2 separate regions of the Homo sapiens genome follow, and region 2 is linked to region 1. The links are contacts of gene promoters, found by promoter capture Hi-C in human tissues and cell types (Jung and others, 2019). All regions are on one chromosome and are shown on one strand. Each heading gives the region's core, a stretch centred on a gene start or on the middle of the fragment in contact. The rest is flanking DNA. Distances are from core to core; before and after follow the strand shown.

Region 1 (6,844 bases), core at 1,254-3,753:
AAAAATATTCCTAATCTTATCTTCCGATTTATGATATTTGCCTAGCAACATTATAACATTTGCCTAGGAACACAGGCAAGACTGTTTATTTCAAGTCATCCAAAAATGACCAAAGGGAGACGATGTAAAATTTCACTAATAGGATCCCCTTGAAATAAAATATTTTGCTTCTTAGGTCTATAAAGCCAGTTTTGAGGAGATGCTCACAACTGTTGCTGAGTCAGTCTGGGGAAAGTAGACTGTGTGCCAGGCAATATTAAAAAATATTTTGAGTTAGGTTTTCATGCCTGAGTCTCTTTTTTTATTTTTTATTTTTTTGAGACAGAGTCTGGCTCTGTCACCCAGGCTGGAGTACAGGGGTATGATCTCGGCTCGTGGCAACCTCCACCGTCTGGGTTCAAGTGATTCTCCTGCATCAGCCTCCTGAGTAGTTGGGGCTACAGGCGCATGCCTGGCTAATTTTGTATTTTTCGTAGAGACGGGGTTTCGCCATGATGGGCAGGCTGGTCTCAAACTGCTGACCTCAGGTGATCTGCCTGCTTCGGCCTCCCAAAGTGTTGGGATCACAGGCATGAGTCACCACGCCCAGCCCTGAGTCTCTTTTTGCTGTAATTTTAAAATAAAATTGTACATGTACTTCATATTCCTTGCAGAAAAATTAGAAAACATAGGGAAAAACTAATTTTAACCACACAGGATCTCATTACCCAAAGTTGCAATATTGTTAATATTATTTGTCTTTTTTCCAACAGCACATATACATAGGTATTATAAATATTATAGTAAACATATATTACATATGTTATATTAATATATCATTTAATATATTAATATAAATATTATATTAAGTGGCAAAACCACAATTAGTTTTGCACCAACCTAATATAATTCACTTATGAAAATTTGATACTATATATGTTTCCACTCAGTGTATCATGAAAATGTTTTCAAATAAATATGCATCCATAGCATTCTTTACAATGACTGCATAGTAGTGTCTATGGCTTTTTAGTTAGGTAGTTTGGGGTTTTTTTTTTTTTTTGAGACAGTGTCTCGTTCTGTTGCCCAGGGTAGAGTGCAATGGTGAGATTATGGCTCCCTGAAGCCTCAACCTCCCGGGCTCAAGCGATTTTCCCACATCAGCCTCCCGAGTAGCCGGGACCGAGGGTGTGCCAACCACTCCCAGCTAATTTTTGTATTTTTTGTTGAGACAGTGTATCGCTATGTTGCTCAGGCTGGTCCTTCCGAACTCCTGGGCTCAAGTGATCCTCCCACCTTAGCCTCCCAAAGTATTGGGATTACAGGCATAAGCCACAGGGCCCAGTCTACTTTGGGTTTTAATATGTTTTCCTGTCATAATTCTGCAAGCTCAGTGAATTTACTGGCAGTCTATGCTAGAAAAGAATACCTAATATTTGTATAGTACTTTACAGAGTACACTGGCACATATTGACTATATAATGGGAATAACGGTGCTATCTGTTCCATAGGGTCATTTTGCGAAATAATAGTGCATGGCAAATAGAAAATAATCCATAATGTGAATTGTTATTACTACAGTCATGTCAACATTTCCTGTAATGGCAGAATCATCATCATGCATATATTTTAGGTGAGGAAACTGGCTGAGAGAGGTGAAGTAATTGCTCAAAGACGTCAGTGTGGAAACCTCAGCTCATTTGACTTCAAATTCCATAGTTTTGGCACTATCTCATATTGCTACTCTTTCCCGTGGGACCTGTCCTTTCCGACAACTTTGCAGGCAGGGCTAGCCCTGCCAGCTGCCTCCATCAAAAATTATTTTGCTATTTCTCAATTCTCCAGAATCCCACACAATATTGCTTGACTTTGGGATGGTTATTCAGCTGCAATTAACAGAGGCCTTAATAAGGTTAAGCCGCCAGAACGAGCGGTGTAGCATGAGCGAGGACTCTAGCACCTGGCAGGTGAGGTTGACTCTAGCACCCGGCAGGTGAGGTTTTTGCGCTTCTCTCTCTCTCTCTTTTTTTTTTTTTGAGAAGAGTCGAGCTCTGTCGCAAGGCTGGAGTGCAGTGGCCCGATCTCGACTCACTGCAATCTCCGCCTCTCGGGTTCAAACGATTCTCCTGCCTCAGACAGCTACTTTTTGACTCACTGCAATCTCCGCCTCTCGGGTTCAAACGATTATCCTGTCTCAAACAGCTACTTTTTGTATTTTTAGTGGAGACGGGGTTTCACCATGCTGGCCAGGATGGTCTCGATCTCCTGACCTCGTGATCCGTCCACCTCGGCCTCCTAAAGTGCTGGGATTACAGGCGTGAGCCACCGCGCACGGCTGTTTTTGCGCTTCTCGATTTCGCCACGTGGCTTTGCGGTAGCCCAGGAGGTACTAGGAGGGCGGAGGCACGAATAACACCCAAAGGACTACAGTTTCCAGAAGCCCGCGCGCGCCGCGTGCCACGTGACCACCTGGCTGGCGCGCGCGCCTGGGGGTCTGGTCCCTAGCCGCGTTCTCGGTCGCTTCCCTCTTCTCTCGCCGCCTCCTGGCCTCCGCACCGACGCGGCCCGGGCTGGAGCCGAGCCGGGGCCGAGCTGCAGGCCGGACCGGAGCCGGATCTGTACCCGCTGAGACGTGGAAACATGGAGGCCTGAGCCGGTGTGCGCCACCTGGGCTGCGGCGGCGACAGCGACTTCTCCTGACCCCTCTGCCACCCTCCCATCCGTCCGCGGGTCCGTGGAGCTGGAGCAGATCCCCCAGCCGGCTGAGACAGGTGGGCTGTAGCGCCGCCCCCCTCAGCGCGGCCGGGCCCGAAAGCCTGGCTGTCCCCGGCCTCCTGTCAGAGGGGGTCAGGGGCCACCCTCCGCAACCCGGCCAGCGCCCCGGGGCGGCGGCGAAGGGACCCTCCCTTCCCTGCCCGCGGGCGCCTGGGCCACCCGGAGGGGCTGTGCTGACAGCGGACGGACCTCTGTCCGAGTCCGCTGTTGGGAGTTGGGGGATACCGAAGGCCAAGTCGGTGCTTCCGGAGATGGGGCGGTGTTGGTCTGACAAATGGGCGTGTGATGGGCAGGGTGAGCAATAGCTGTTGGGTTTTTCTTTCTTCTTTTTACATTCATAGTTTATCGAGGTATAACTAACATATCAGAAAATTAACCCTTTAAAAGTACAACTCAGTGGTTTTTAGTATATTCACAGGGTTGAGCAGCCATCACCACCCTTAACTCCAGAGCATTTTTAATCACCGCCCCCCCCGCCCCAAAGAAGCTCGTACCCATTAGCAGTCACTCCTCCTTCTCTCCCCTACACTATTGATCTACTTTCAGTCGCCGTGGATTTGCCTGAGCAATTGTGTTTTGACTGAAAAGTGAAAGGGTGGGTGTTTGTGAACTGGGGGCAGTAGTGGGGTTTGAGGGTATTGGTGTGGTAAAGCTGATTGGATAAAGCTGTTCTCTACTGAACAGGGGTAGAGAAGTGATGGGATGATTGTAATCGGCCAGCAAAGCGGGTACCCAGGATAGACTGATTAGGGGGCACAGATGGAGTGAGTTCCTTGAAAGAGGAGAGGGGAAGTTGGAGAGAGGGGTGTGTAGAGCAAGGGTGATGTGCTGAAGGATGAAAACCTGGAGGGTGGAGGCCGTGGAGAGGAATGTAGCGTCCACCAGAGGAACTCAGGTGCTTAGGCTGATGAGTTGAGGGCTCAAGAGAAGAACGAGGTGGAAGGGAAGAGAATCTATAGGAATGGGTGAATGGTTGTTGCAGAGGATGAAATTTATGAATATATGGATTTCTGGAGTGATTATCCTGCTTTGAAGTTTTATTTTAGATAATCCTCTCAGCAACTTGGAGATAGACCGGACAAGTATGAATATTCCCATTCTGTAAATGAAGAACTAGTCTTTTAGAGGTTAGGTGTCTGCCTTAAGCTCATAAACTGAGTACATAGGGCAAAATGAGTTGGAATAATTGATGAAACTATCAGTCGCAAGTGGATTAAATGGCAGAGAACTGAGTTGGGGCAATGTTAATAGGAAGGAGATTCAGCTATTAAGAAGTCTGTGTTGTTACGACATATAGGTCAAGGAGTTTTTATGTTTTTGCACCTTTTAACCATAGAAAAGTTCACACAGTGAAATAATAAAGGGTACTCCCATGTACCCATTACCCAGCTTCAGCAGTTAACTCATGCCAATTTAATTTCATCTATGTCCCTATGCATTCCTATCCCCACTCACAATTATTTTAAAGCAAATCATAGACATTCAATTTCATCTGTAAATATTTCAATATATATCTGTAGAAGATTGAATTGCTTTTTTTTGTTGGTGGTGGTGGGAGGCAGAGTCTCGCTCTGTCATTCAGGCTGGAGTACAGTGGCGTGATCCCGGCTCACGGCAACGTCTGCCTCCTGGGTTCAAGCAATTCTCCTGCCTCAGCCTCCTGAGTAGCTGGGATTACAGGCACGTGCTACCATGCCTGGCTAATTTTTTGTATTTTTAGTAGAGACGGGGGTCTCATCATGTTGCTCAGGCTGGTCACGAACTCCTGAGTTCAGGCATTTCACCCACCTCAGCCTCTGAAAGTGCTGGGATTACAGGGGTGAGCCACTGCACCTGGCCTGCTCTTTTTAATAGGCCCAGAATACCATTATCACACATAAAAATTAATAGTTTTTAATATCTAGAAAGATTTACTGTACTTTAAAAAAGTGTGGTAATCCATTTGATACAAAGAGGATAAACAGTGCAAACGCTTTTATGTTTGACTCTGAAAAATGTGGCATAATTATCTCCTGATTTTTCCATTAGATCCTGCCATCCTGATTGTTCCTTTTTTTTTTATTAATATGGCTCATTTTTCTACAGAAAGTTTGAAGAATTGTCACTTTGGTAGGCTTTTTAATGAATGGAGGGCAGGAGAGAAATAGAAGTGAAATATGTTACAACATGTACAAATGGCTCTTTCTTATATTGCTCCAAATATTTGGGCAATTTGGTTATGCTTTTCTAGATAATTTCACATATTATTAGAAGTTGTTTAATGTTATGTATCAGTTTTCTATGATTGCTGTAACATGTTACCACAAATTTAGTGGCTTAAAACAATGCATTTATTATTTTACAGTTCTGTAGGTTAGAAGTCAAAGTGGGTCTCACTGGCTGTCAACAAGGCTGTGTTCTTCTCTGGAGGTTTCTAGGGGGCATCTATGCCTCTTCCAGCTTCTAGAGGCTGCCACTTTCCTTGGCTTGTGGCGTACCTCCTCTGTCTTCAAAGCCACCAGTGTTGCATCTCTCTGATCATACTTCCATCCTCAAGTCTCTGACCACAAGTGGGAAAGGTTCTCTGCTTTTAAGGACCCATGTAATTAAATCAGGCCCACTTAGCTAATTCAGGATAAATCCCCCCTCGAGGTTCTTAATTTAATCACGCCTGCAAAGTCTCTTTTCCCAGCAACATAATCAGAGCTTCCATGGATTAGTATGTGGACATCTTTGGAGGCTATTATTCTACCTACCACAGTGTATTTTGGAATATTTTGCCGAGACTTAAGAAAGTAGGTGATTTCTTTTGCTGCTGTACATGCAACGAGAGGGCCGTCTTTTACTTAGGATTGTAGATAATGGGAATGGTTAGATCTAGAGAAGACTGTTCATTTTTCCTTTTAGTGAAATATGGGAAATACCTGTGACACTTGTAGTATAGGCTTTGGTAAAATGAGACCTTTAAAAATGATTTAAGTATAAAAGCAATACAGCTCCATGTAAAGTTTTTCTATATTTCGTTTTGGTCTCTTTTTCATATTCATGTCTTAAAACATAGTATATATGTGTAATCAGAGGGCTAACCTGATACTTGACACAGGACACGCTGGGGGCAATGATGGTTCCCATGCCCAGGATGAGAAGGCAGGGACTCTCTGTCCAAGTGGGAGATAAAGGCACCCCCATTTCAGCAGCAAAAGAAGACTCCTAATGAAAGTGAGAGAATATCTTCAGGCAGAATGAACTACTGTGAGATTTGGACTTGAAGCAGCCTCTTCTCAGGTTCTTCTGTGACTCAGCTGGGAATGGTAGAGTGCTGTGAGCCTAGAAGAGCAGAGTGATAAGATGCCCATTGCTGCTTTTCCTTTCTTCGGACAGAGAGAGGACTAATCTTAAAGATTGAAAGGATTTCTGGGAGTCCTCCAGTTTGGTATCCTGTTTCCTAGTGGGTTTCACTTTCCTACTTAGCTGTCAAAGTCCTTACTGTCTCTAGGTGTGAAGGTTCTGGCTTTCTGGTGGTGGTGCACCATTTATCAGGAAATGTGATGGGACTTATTAAATATCTGCTCTTGCCTTTAAGCATTTTTTTTTCTAGTAAGGTTTTTAGCAGAGCTTTATGCTTTGAACTTTGCTTGTAAACAGTTTGTAAGTTATCCTCACATTACTTAATTCTAGACAAAATGAACTAGTGGGGCTGGGAACAACTTTACATATAGGTCTTATTTAGTAAAAGTTTTTGTTTTTTTCATTTCTTAAGGAAGTTTGGTTAGTGATTTTGGTATCTTCTCTGATTTTTATCACATTCTTTAAAAATGCAGGCAATGAAAGTGGCTGAAACTTTCCAATAAGGACATTGGAATAATTATTTTTAAAAAGCTTATCTTTTCTTTTATTGCTCAGTCTTTTGGGCATTTAAAACCTTTTGTCCATCATATGATCGATGACAAATTTCTTTGTTAGGTTGAGTCAGTCACTGAATCTTGACAATTATTCCTTCAAAATATGTCATGCAACCCTCCACCCAGAATACTTTGAAAACCCTACCTGTATCAGTTAGGCTTAGGTTTGGCTATGAATAACAGAGACCTGAAAAATAATAGCTTAAACA
Region 2 (6,844 bases), core at 1,702-4,201, 590 kb after region 1:
GGCCAAGTCCTCCCCTGTGTAAGATGGAGAAGGTCCCACCTCGGGCGTGGCGTGAGGAGATGAGGGCGCTTAGGTGGGTGCCTGGTTCGAGGCGTGCCCGTGGTGTTAGCTGTACCTCTGTGACCTTGGGCGAGTCCCTTCCCTGTAAGGGCCGCAGGGTCTTCATCTGTAAAACGAGAGGGTGGCTTTAAAGTGCCTTCCACATCCTGGTATCCTGGAGTATTTGGAGGGGCCACTGGGGAAAAGCGATGGAGGAACTTCTGGGGAGGGGCAGCAGGTGCAATTGATGGAAGGAGGTGGCCCCGGCATCCCCACTGCTTCTATAGAACCCAGGAGGGTGAGGGGTCTGTGGGGTCGTGTTCTGACCCATGCCCTGCACCGTGAAGGGGAGATTCCTCCAACACCATGGCTGAGGGGGCCGCAGTGTTGCTGGAACTCATCAAGGGCATAGGGTGTGGGGCTTTGCTCCCTTAGGAAGCGGCCTCCTCCACCGTTGGGCAGTTCCGGTTTCCAGAACATCATCCTTGTGTGGACCCGGCATCTCCCCCAGATCTCTTCTGAGCCTCCGACCAGGCGCCTCAAGCTGAGGGCATCCCTTGACCAGGAATATTTTCCTCGGCTCAGTCTGTCCAGACCGTTCCCTCCCTAACTAAGGGATAGTCCAGAGTTCTGGAAGGAAGGGCCTTCGTGAGGGGAGGCCAGCTGTGCCTGCCCACTGAGGACCTTCAGCCCGTTCTCTGCCATTGCAGACCCCGTGCCGGCCCCACTCCCAGGGGCAGGCGAAGGCTTGGCCACTGAGACACCTGTGTTTCTGGCTCTAGGACGTGGCACCCTCACAGCTAGGCCTCCCAGCTCTCCCTGCACAGAGGCCACCCAGCCTGGGAGGCTTGCAAAGTGCAGCACAAATTCACACACCCCACATCACACACACCCACACACAGCACACACACATACACCACACGCATACCACACTAATTCTCCATTCTCACACCATGTACACACAACGCAACCCTCTCCAACCACACATACCCCGCTCCCTGCGTGCGTGCGTATATACCACATCCCCCACCCCCACACAACACACAACACAACCCTCTCCAACCACACATACCCCGCTCCCTGCACGTGTGCGTATATACCACATCCCGCACCCCACACAACACACAACGCAACCCTCTCCAACCACACATACCCCGCTCCCTGCATGTGTGCGTATATACCACATCCCGCACCCCACACAACACACAACGCAACCCTCTCCAACCACACATACCCCGCTCCCTGCACGTGTGCGTATATACCACATCCCCCACCCCCACACAACACACAACGCAACCCTCTCCAACCACACATACCCCACTCCCTGCATGTGTGCGTATATACTACATCCCGCACCCCACACAACACACAACGCAACCCTCTCCAACCACACATACCTCGCTCCCTGCGTGTGTGCGTATATACCACATCCCGCACCCCACACAACACACAACGCAACCCTCTCCAACCACACATACCCCGCTCCCTGCGTGTGTGCGTATATACCACATCCCGCACCCCCACACAACACAGTCACACTCCACACCCAGAGAGTCTCACATGCAGCGCCCAGGTTGTGTCCTACACAAGGGTGCCCAGCTGTGGGTCTGAGGCAGCTCCCAGGGTTCTGGGGCAGGGCTGGGCACCTGGAGGAAGGGCACCTCCTAACTGGCACGAAGGTGCCCTCCGCACTGGCTAAGACTCTGGCACCCATGACCACAGAGCACTCCCCACCCACCTCCAGGCCTCTCTAGACAGTGAGACATCAGGCCCCTGAGGACCCCCAGCCCTCCCCACTGGAAGGCCCTGCCCGTGCCCCACCCTGTATTCCTCCCTGGCCCTGAGTGCCCTGCCTCGAGTATGTGGCTCCAGGCACAGCTGGCTCTTCCCTCCCCAAGCCCCTCAGTCCCTTAGTACCTGGACCATTCCCTTCATCCCCCACATGCTTATGGGGCACCTGCTGGGGCCAGGCCCTGGCTTAGTGCTGGGGAGACAGAGGGGACGAAGTCACGCTCATCCTCAGCAGGCATCTGCCATCTACACACCAATGGCCATGCCCAGGGAGCAGGACTGTGGCAGAACATCCCTGGCAGCTGTGGGAGCCCCGAGGGGTGATCTGTAACCCTGACTAGGGAGCAGTCAGGGAGAGCTTCCTGAAAGAGGTGGCAGTAGACAGAGGCACGTGCTTTCTAACTTCTGTGACTCACTGCATGCTGAGCTCTGCCCCTTCTCACCAGAAAGGGAGGCCATGGTGTGGATCAGAGACAGCCCATCTGCAGACCTGTGATCAGGAACAGTGAACCTCTGTGTTGCAGTTCCTGAGATTTGGGGCTTGTTAGTCACACAGTGACATGGCAGTAGCTAGGCAACACGGACCCTGAGCCCCCTTTCCAATCTGGCGACACACCTCATGAGTTACAGTCCCTCCCCACCTGCTCAGCCTCAGCACTTCTCCTTTTCCTCTAAGCTGCACCCGGCTGAGCCTTGCCCTGGCTGAACAGGACTGCACTGATGACGCGCCTGGGCCATGAGCCTCCCTCCCACCCATTTTGTTTGCCTTTGAGATGCCTTTGTGTCGTATGTTCTGCTGGGTCAGCAGGAGATTCAAGAGCCCTGACCTGAGCTCCCTGCACATTTCTGGGAACTGGAGGTGATGGAGTGGGCCGGGTGCCTTGTGTCTGATGTGTAGGTGGCATGATGTCAGGAATGGGGCAGAAAAAGGCTTCCAGGCTCCCGAGACACATTGAGTCCCATTGAGCATAGATGGCTATTAGGGACTTGTCTCTAGCACAGGGAGAAGGAGGCTGTGGCCCCTCTGAGAGGCCTTCTTTCAGTTCAGCTCCTAAGGATGGTCTTCCGGAAGCTCTCTGCATGATCTTTCACTTACCCAAGAAACATCAACATTTGCCCCCGAATGACACAGAATCACACTGGTGGTTAGGCTGACACAGCGTTTACACGGATTTGAAACTCTGTAGGTGTGACTGCTGGCTGCAGAAACTCCACTGAGTGCTGAAACATTCTAAGCCACAAAAAGTAAGATTTTAGAGTGTGCAGAATTGCAAGGGTCTGTGTATGCATACAAGTGTTGTTAAAATTGGCTTCTCACCTGCTTTAATCACACTTTTGTTATTTGGGGGAAATGCTATAGAATAAGTCTCTTTTCACCTTGCTAGCCTGTCTTGGTTCCCACTGGAAGTTTTCTTCTTTTGGCCTAGGTGGGTATTTGGGTTTCACCTGATTTGTTCTGGGAAGGGAGGGGAATGGTGGTCCTTCCTCTCTGGGGCTGGAAAGTGAAGCTTCGTCAAGCCCTGAATGGTCCCCATTGGAAGGCCTGGGCCAGGTGTTGGCTCTCTGTAGCACAGCAGATGCCACAGGCAGGGACCCTGCACCAGGACCTACCCAGAGTTGGGCTAGGCCTATGAGAGGTTGTCTGTTGTCTGGAAATTCCAGCTCCCAGGAGACTGACCATGCCAAGGTGGTTAAGGCATTGTCTCCTTTGCTTATTTCCTTATAGCACCCCCAGCACAAGGTGGGACCCAAGTAGGGGTTCACTTGAAAGACGTGGGCACAGGTGATGAGACTAGGAGACAGAGCATCACCCTTGAACCATCTCTGCTTCAGGTCAGCTGTGGGATCCTGGCCATATTATTATTATTATTATTATTATTATTATTATTATTATTATTATTATTATTATTTGAGATTAAGTCTCGCTCTGTCACCCAGGGTGGAGTGCAATGGCACGGTCTTGGCTCACTGCAATCTCTGCCTCCTGGGTTTAAGCGATTCTCCTGTCTCAGCCTCTCGAGTAGCTGGGATTACAGGCTGCGCCACCATGCCCGGCTAATTTTTTTGTATTTTTGTAGAGATGGGGTTTCACCATGTTGGCCAGGCTGGTCTTGAACTACTGACCTCAAGTGATCCACCCACCTTGGCCTCCCAAAGTGTTGGGATTACAGGCGTGAGCCACCATGCCTGGCCTCCTGGCCATATTATTTATTATTTTTTTTTAGAGACAGGTCTTGCTCTGTCACCCAGCCTGGAGTGCAGTGGTGCGACCACAGCTCACTGCAGCCTTGATTTCCTGGGCTCGAGTGATCCTCCTGCCTCAGCCCCCTGAGTAGCTGGGACTACAGGTGTGTGCCATCACGACCAGCTAGTTAAAAATATATATATTTTTTTGTAGAGATGGGGTCTTGTCATGTTGCTCAGGCTGGTCTCAAACTCCTGGGCTCAAGTGATCCTCCTGCCTCAGCTTCACGACGTGCTGGGATTACAGGCTTGAGCCACTGTGCCTGGCCTGGCCATATTGTAAGACTTAATCTGTCACCTGGGACTGATTCCACCCATGGAATGGATGCCCCCATGGGTTGCAGGAGACTCAGGACTCTGCCTGGGAGCCAGGGGATGCCCAGTGAATGGGGAGGCTGAAGATGGAGACCAGTTAGAATTATGGGACACTGAGCAGGAAGCACAGACCTGCACTCCACAGGCCTGGATCAGGGGACTCAGGCACAAAGGTGGCCTGGGTCCTCAGCCTGGTCCCCATACCCACCCACCAGTCCCATCTTAGGACTAAGAAGGCAGCAATTCGAGGCCTGGTCTTTGTGCCTACAGGTCCCATGACATGGGATTGTTACTCTGCTTCTGTGAGCCTGTCTCCCTTCTTTACAATGGTGTCAAAAACATGTCACCTGGCAGCGCTGTCGTAAGGATCGAACATAGTCATATATTTAAAGACTATAAAGCCCCATTCAAACCTATGGGATGGCTCTGTAAGCCTCAGTTTCCCCAGATTTGAAATGGATATAAGCATTGTATTTACTTCTTTCACGGGGCTCTGGTGAGACCGTAACCAGATAATGTGTGCTAAAGGGCTGCAGAGGGGAGAAAGTGCTGTGTGATGAATCGGGCTCTCAGGGGCCAGCCTCCTTAGCGCGGCAAACACAGCTGCTCTGGCTGGCGCTTGGAGCTGTCTGGCTGGCAGCCAGTCCAGGGCAGAGGCAGCTACTGCATCTGCTTCCAGCACGGGCCAACTGCTTCCTTGGAAGACTGCTTTTGAACCACTCCCCCTCCCCAGCCCTGAGTCACCCAGAGATCAGGTGGGCAGCAGAGAAAGGTGGGACTCCCAGCTCAGATGACACTCAGGTAGGGCCAATACACCTGTTAGGCATATACAAAGGGTGCTGCTATGGATGGCATGTTTTTGTGTCCCCTAAATGCATATGTTGAAATCCTAATCCCCAATATGATGGTATTAGGAGGTGCCTTTGGGAGGTGAGGAGGTCAGAGGGATGGAGCCCTTATCAATGGGGTTAGTGCCCTTATAAGGGAGACCCCAGCAAAGTCTCTTACTCTCTTTCTGCCATGAAGATCCAATAAATTAGCCACTGGGAAGTAGGCCCTCACCAGACCATGACTATGCTGGCACCCTGATTTGGGACATCCAACTTCTAGTATTTTAAGAAATAAATGTCTGTTGTTCATAAGCCACCAAGTCTATGGTACTTTGTTACAGATGCCTGAATGGACTAAGACAGGAGCCCACAAAATGTTTTTTAGGGGCCCACAAAGTGTTTTAATTTTTTTAAAATCAGGGGTAAAAAAATGAACTTCTAGGTGGGAGAAAATGTTTTAATAAAAATAATATATTTGTCTCTATTACCAATGTAGTCATAATATTTCCATTTTTTTTTTAAATGGAAGAAGGGGCCTATGAAGGCAAAAGTACCTAAGGCCCATAGGAGTGAGAATGCAGCCCGAGTCCATGGTATGGATTCTGTTCCACATTCAAGCAACTTGCCAGAGCCCCTGCCCCATGTTGCAGATGTGCCAGCCAGTGTTGTTTCAGCCAAGATGGCAGACCCTGAGATTGCAAAAGAGCACAGCAGCATGGCCTGCTGTCCCCAGACAATAATTCTGCACTACTTATGACAGCTCTCCATGGCCATCATCGTACTGTGTTCCAGGAGTGATGGATGGCGGCTCTCAACCATCTTTTCTCTTGCACCCATCCAAGGCATAGCACACATGTACCAGTAAGAAGAGGGGCTCCCCAAGGCCCAAATTCTGAAAATATTGGTGTGTATGTGTGTGCTGTTTTAGTATGTAGTTTGAAAATGTTCCCAGGCAATTCGGGTATTGACCCTGATGCTTGATATGTCCCCCTATCAGGGTCCCCCTCACTGGCCTGGGGGAAACTGGGATCCAGCAACACACACTGCACATATGATAATGGGTCCTTTTATAGAACGGCACCAAATTCTGCACCATCGCTCCTTCTGCCCACTCCACTGAAATCTCCTGATCTGAGGTATTTCATCATGGTCCTAGTTTCCACCAATGAAGCGGGAAGCCCACGTGGCCTGCCCGCAGCCTGCCGAGTCCCGGGGGCAGCTGGCTGCTCCTTTTGTCTGGCTGGTGTGACTGGCTGGCTCCCTGGGGCGCTGCAGGGATGAGGAGTCTGAAGGACCCACTCACTTTCTGGGCTCACCCTCGCCTTGGCTCTTCTGGTGATCAGCCTTTGGCGCATCTATAAAATGGGAATCGAAAACACTCACCTGCCTACTTCACGGGACCAGCTGAGACCGTGTAAGGAAGCCGCTGCGGAACTGCAGGAATGAGGGAGATCAGTAAGGCAGGACCACTTCTTTCCCATTTCAACTGCTCAACCCTTTATTTTTCTGCTATCATCATCTTTGCCTTGGTCCTTAAAAGGCCCTTATAAGTTACGCTGTGAGCATCCCAGTACAAATGTAAACAAACACTCTAAAATGACAAGAGAATGCCTACAAGCAGAAAG

The links. The method cuts DNA at HindIII sites, captures the fragments that hold promoters and counts their contacts. A contact is called where the count stands out against the background at its distance.
Region 2: a fragment that was not itself captured here is called in contact with the fragment with the promoter of DYM in region 1 in 2 of the 25 tissues and cell types used here (IMR-90 fibroblasts and lymphoblastoid cells).

Annotation. Positions count from the first base shown.
Region 1 is chr18:49,456,304-49,463,147 of GRCh38, reverse strand. It overlaps DYM (dymeclin), which reads left to right and starts at 2,503. Exons shown (of 18, transcript NM_001353214.3): 1 at 2,503-2,750. RefSeq lists a silencer at 2,525-3,104. The HindIII fragment of the contact is 14,393 bases long and covers 1-6,844 here.
Region 2 is chr18:48,864,719-48,871,562 of GRCh38, reverse strand. No RefSeq gene overlaps it. Among named protein-coding and RNA genes, the nearest start is that of CTIF-AS1, 26 kb to the right of the region's middle. RefSeq lists an enhancer at 2,765-2,874. The HindIII fragment of the contact is 7,300 bases long and covers 1-6,601 here.